2 separate regions of the Homo sapiens genome follow, and region 2 is linked to region 1. Evidence: promoter capture Hi-C in 16 types of primary human blood cells and fetal thymus (Javierre and others, 2016). All regions are on one chromosome and are shown on one strand. The core of a region is centred on a gene start or on the middle of the fragment in contact, and the rest is flanking DNA. Distances in the headings are between cores, read along the strand shown. Region 1 overlaps ZBTB46 (zinc finger and BTB domain containing 46). Region 2 holds the start of ZBTB46 (zinc finger and BTB domain containing 46).

The links. Contacts are between HindIII fragments. The CHiCAGO score rates a contact against its expected background, and 5 or more counts as called.
Region 2: a contact is called between the fragment with the promoter of ZBTB46 here and a fragment that was not itself captured in region 1, in 2 of 17 cell types (M2 macrophages and M0 macrophages). The highest score is 5.1, in M2 macrophages.

What each region holds. Positions count from the first base shown.
Region 1 is chr20:63,779,638-63,782,236 of GRCh38, forward strand. All of the region lies in intron 2 of ZBTB46 (zinc finger and BTB domain containing 46), which reads right to left. Among named protein-coding and RNA genes, the nearest start is that of ZBTB46-AS1, 27 kb to the right of the region's middle. The HindIII fragment of the contact is 5,454 bases long and covers 1-2,599 here.
Region 2 is chr20:63,829,951-63,832,549 of GRCh38, forward strand. ZBTB46 (zinc finger and BTB domain containing 46) reads right to left here and starts at 1,314. Exons shown (of 5, transcript NM_001369741.1): 1 at 1,147-1,314. RefSeq lists a silencer at 1,332-1,471. The HindIII fragment of the contact is 15,017 bases long and covers 1-2,599 here.

The DNA of each region.
Region 1 (2,599 bases), core at 40-2,539:
TCTCGATCTCTTGACCTCGTGATTCGCCCCCCTCAGCCTCCGAGAGTGCTGGGATTACAGGCCTGTGAGCCACCGCGCCCGGCCGCTAATTTTTGTATTTTTAGTAGAGACGGGGTTTCACCACATTGGTCAGGCTGGTCTCAAACTCCCAACCTCAGGTGATCTGCCCACCTCAGACTCCCAAAGTGCTGGGATTACAAGCATGAGCCACCATGCCTGGCCAAAATCACCCAATTTTAAAGCCAAATTTTAAATCTAAATTATTGTAACAAATCAAGGTGAAAAACACATAAAAGAAATCAGGATAAGCTGAAAGAACTCTCCCTTGTGTGAAATGCTAAAATTTGGGTTTCCGCCAGGCACAGTGTCTCATGCCTGTAATCCCAGCATTTTGGGAGGCCGAGATGGGTGGATCATGAAGTCAGGAGTTTGAGACTAGCCTGGCCAGCCCGGTGAAACCCCGTCTCTACTAAAATACAAAACATTAGCTAGGCATGGCGGTGCGTGCTTGTAATCTCAGCTACTCGGCAAGCTGAGGCAGGAAAATCGCTTGAACCAGGGAGACAGAGGTTGCGGTGAGCCGAGATCACACCATTGCACTCCAGCCTGGGCAACAAGAGTGAAACTCCATCTCAAAAAAAAAAAAGACAGATAAAAGAAATTCTCATTAATTTTATGTATATAGTAGTTAGCAAGGTAACTCAATGGATAAAAGACAGGTTTCTTAGCAAGCAGCACTGGAACAACCTTATAATCCTATGTAAAAAGTGAACCTCAAGCTGATCTCACGCCACATACAAAAAAACCAACTTGAATCATGGAGCTATGCGTTATACTTAAATTGATAAAAACTCAAGAAAAACCATAGGAGAAAGTCTTTGTTGGCTGGGCACGGTGGCTCATGCCTGTAATCCCAGCACTCTCGGAGGCTGAGGCGGGCGGATCACGAGGTCAGGAGTTCAAGACCATCCTGGCTAACATGGTGAAACCCCGTCTCTACTAAAAATACAAAAAATGAGCCGGGCGTGGTGGCGGGCGCCTGTAGTCCCAGCTACTCGGGAGGCTGAGGCAGGAGAATGGTGTGAACCCAGGAGGCAGAGCTTGCAGTGAGCCGAGATTGCACCACTGCACTCCAGCCTGGGCGACAGAATGATACTCCGTCTCAAAAAAAAAGGATCCTCCTGAAGAGACACTGTTAAATGAAAAAAGGAGGCCATGCACAGTGGCTCACGCCTGTAATCCCAACATTTTGGGAGGCCAAGGCGGGTGGATCATGAGGTCAGGAGTTCAAGACCAGCCTGACCAACATGGTGAAACCCCATCTCTACTAAAAAAAAAAAAAAAAATACAAAAATTAGCTGGGCGCGGTGGCGGGTGCCTGTAATCCCAGCTATTCAGGAGGCTGAGGCAAGAGAATGGCGTGAACCCAGGAGGCAGAGTTTGCAGTGAGCCAAGATGGTGCCACTGCACTCCAGCCTGGGTGGCAGAGCAAGACTCTGCCTCAAAAAAAAAAAAAAAAAAAAAAAGAAAGAAAAAAGGAGCCAAAGGCCAAGAGAAAATATTTTCAAAGCACATACTTGATGAAGGACTTGGAACGAGAACACCTAGGAACTCTCACCACTCAGTAATAAAAGATGGGCAGAAGATCTGAACAGACACTTCCCCAAGGAAGAGACCCAGATGTGGAGCAGGTGCCCGATGCTCATCACCGCCAGCTGAGCCACGACACTCACTCGGCCAGAGCCTCACGGTCACCACGTAGACAGCCCAATCGAAACACGGCAAAAAGACCTGGACAGACACTTTACCAAAAAAGATATATGAATGGCATCATCCGCCATCAAAGAAATGCAAATCAAAGACCATAGAGAAGCCAGGTGTGGCGTCTCACGTCTGTCATGCCAGCACTGTAGGAGGCCGAGGCAGGCGGATCACCTGAGGTCAGGAGTTCGAGACCAGCCTGGCCAACACGGCCAAACCCCGTCTCTACTAAAAATACAAAAAATCAGCCAGGGGTGGTGCTGGGTGATTGTAATCCCAGGTACTCGGGAGGCTGAGGCAGGAGAATTGCTTGAACCTAGGAGGCAGAGGTTGTAGTGAGCCAAGATCGTGCCATTGCACTCCAGCCTGGACAACAGAGCGAGACTCTGTCAAAAAAAAAATAGAGGCCGGGCGCGGTGGCTCACGCCTGTAATCCCAGCACTTTAGGAGGCTGAGGTGGGCAGATCACAAGGTCAGGAGATCGAGACCATCCTGACTAACACGGTGAAACCTCGTCTCTACTAAAAATACAAAAAAAATTAGCCAGGCGTGGTGGTGGGTGCCTGTAGTCTCAGCTACTCAGGAGGCTGAGGCAGGAGAATGGCATGAACCGGGGAGGCGGAGCTTGCAGTGAGCCGAGATGGCGCCACTGCACTCAGGCCTGGGTGAAAGAGCAAGACTCCGTCTCAAAAAAAAAAAAAAGAAAAGAGGCGTGGCGATTTTCACCAAAATCCCCGGCTACTGTATGCAAACCCCCAGTGGTGAGCCAATGACTCCTGCAGAGACGCCCAGGCTGCAACCCCCGAGCCGTGGTTTTGCCACCTTGTGGCAGAACGAC
Region 2 (2,599 bases), core at 64-2,563, 50 kb after region 1:
GCGCGCTAAACACGTTTCTAATTAGCATTTCTTTAAACAATGCTGATCACAATCTTGCCACCGTAATCCACTCCAAATGCATCGTTGAGATTGCAGCACGGAAAGCGAGAGAGGAAATTCGCTGCGAATCTCAAACTTTCTTTTGTTTATATTTCTTCGCTGTCAGAAAATATCCGTTCTTCGCCCCATCTGGTCTGTACCCTGGCTCCTCGGTCCAGCCCTATTGTGTGTGCTTCGTTAAACCTACAAACAGTGAATCTGTCAGCGGGGCCAGGGGAACCCCAACTAGCAGGAGCCCTCCCTCTGGCGCAGAGAATTCCCCGTTTGCCTTAGGGATTGAGTTGTCAGACACCGGCTCGCGCTCCCCCGCGAAACTGACATGTCTATTTACAGAGAAACAAAGACGCGGCTCGCAGCGGACCCCGCTTCCTCCGCGCGCCCCGTCCGCCCCGCGCGCCCCGAGCCCTCCGCGCCCCGAGCCGCCCCGCCCCGAGGCCCCTGCGCCCCGGTTCGGCCGGCGATTAAGATGGAGACCAGGCCGGCGCCCGGCGTCCGGGGAGACAATGACCCCCCGGCCTCAGGGCGCCGGGACCCGCCCGCGCCCACCTCCCGCAGTTCCGACTCTTGGCAAACTCGGCGCGGGCGGCTCCGGGTGCGGCTGGGCTGTGCCGGCGGGGGGCGCGGGCGGGGGGCGCCAAGACGCCCCCGGGCTGCCTCGGGGCCAGGCGTTGACGCAGCAGAAATTACCAGCTGGAAAATTCCCCTCTCGGAGGTGCCGGGGAGGGAGCGCGGCGGCGGCGGGAGGTGCCGGGGGCCGAGGGGCCGGGGCAGCCCAGCCGCCTCCGCGCTCAGCCCCGCGGGGAACCCGCGCCGCCCCCGCGCGCCCCGCCCCGCGCCGCCGGCCTGGGGGGCACCCGCGGGGGCCGGGCCGGGGTCTCCGCCGCCGCCCCCGGAGCCCGCGCCGCAGCTGGGAGCGCCGATGGCCCCCGGGAGGGCGCCCCCGCGGGGCGGGGCGTGGCGGGGCGGCCGGCGGCGGGGGCGCGCCCGGGCTCGCAGCGGCCCCGGCTCCCGGCTCCCGGCTCCGGGCCCGGCCCCCGCCGCGATGCGCCCGCCCGGCCGCGCGGACAATGAGCCGGCGCCGCTTACCTGTGACCCCATGGGGCGCGGGCGAGGGCGGGCGCCGCGGCCGCCGGGCCGGCGCCGGTGATCGCCGCCGCCGCCGGGAGGGCGCTGCGTCCGGGCGGGTCCGAGCTGCGCGCTCGCCGGGGCTGCTCGGTCCGTCCGTCCGTCCGTCGGTCCGTCAGGCCGGCGCGCGCCCCCGCGCCCGCTCCAACCCCGCGGCCCCCGCCGCCCGCGCGCGCGCGCCCCGCCCGCGGACCCTGACCCCGCCCCCCGGCGCGCGCCCGGCCGCCGCTGATTGGCCCGCGCCGCGCCCCGGCCGCGGCCACCGCCCCGGGCCCCGCCCACGCCGGCCCGGCCGCCGGCCCCGCCCCTCGCTCGGCTCCCGGCGCCGCGCCGCGGGGTCGCAGGGGGCCGCGCCGGGGGTCCGTTCTCCCCCCCGCGGGCAGCCGGACAGCGGAAGTGCGGGCTGGAGCTCGCTGGGCATTGTGGGAAGCCCCCTCCCCTGGGCTGGCGGGGGGCTGGGGCGGCGCGGCGCGGGGGTCCCCCTGGCCCCCGCTGCGCCCTTGCCCCGCGAGCGCGGAGCAGCCTGGAAACACCCCACGGGAGCGGCGACCCCGGCGAGGGCACCCGCTCCCTTCCCGGGCCGCGCACCGGGCGCTGCCCACGCGCAGGTTCCTCGGGGGCGCGCGGGTGCCCAGGTCACCGGCCGTCCCCGCGCCTGACGCGCGGTTGCACTGCGCGCGTCTCGCAAACTTGGCGACTCCCCCAGCCCGGCCGGGCATCAACGCGGGCCGCTCGCGGTGCGGAAAAGGCGCCCCCAAGGAAGGCCGCCCGGGGTGCGGGGTCTGGAAGGGCCTGGGCACCGCGCGCGCCTACCCTCGGGGGCCTCGGCGCACCCGGAGATCGGCGCACCTCGGGCGCAGGCCTCGTGGGGGTGCCCGCCAGTGGGGCTCGCTTTTGGCTGACTAGGGGCACCGGCGGCCGCGCGTGGGTCCCTCCCGTCGTGTTGTCTGCGGGGGACGAATGGCTCCGGGAGGGGGCGGGAACCAGCGGCCCGGGCCTCGCCCCAGCCCGTGTGCAGCCCCGATCCGAACGGCCTGGGACGCGTCTCCACCACTCGGCGCCCGGACTCTGCGCGTCGCTTCTCGCCTCCGCCGTCCTCAGCCCTCGGGCGGGTAGAGTGGGAAGCGCGGCCCCGCATTCCTGGCCGGCCTGCGCAGGGGTAAAGGCCACCTCGCTTCCTCTCCCCGGGCGCGGCGGGAAGGGAGGTGAGCCTGTGGCCGGCAGCCGCGCGAGGGAGTCGAGCCCGGCCCGGCCAACCAATGGGGAGGCGCCCGGGCCGTCCAGCCTGCCTCCCTGCGGGCCCAGCGCAGCGGATTCCTCGGGAGGTGGGAGGCGGCGGCCCTATGGGTGCTTTCAAATCTGGATGTGTGAGGCGCATTCAGGAGCGGCAGTGGGAGGCGGCTGAGGGCTCTCC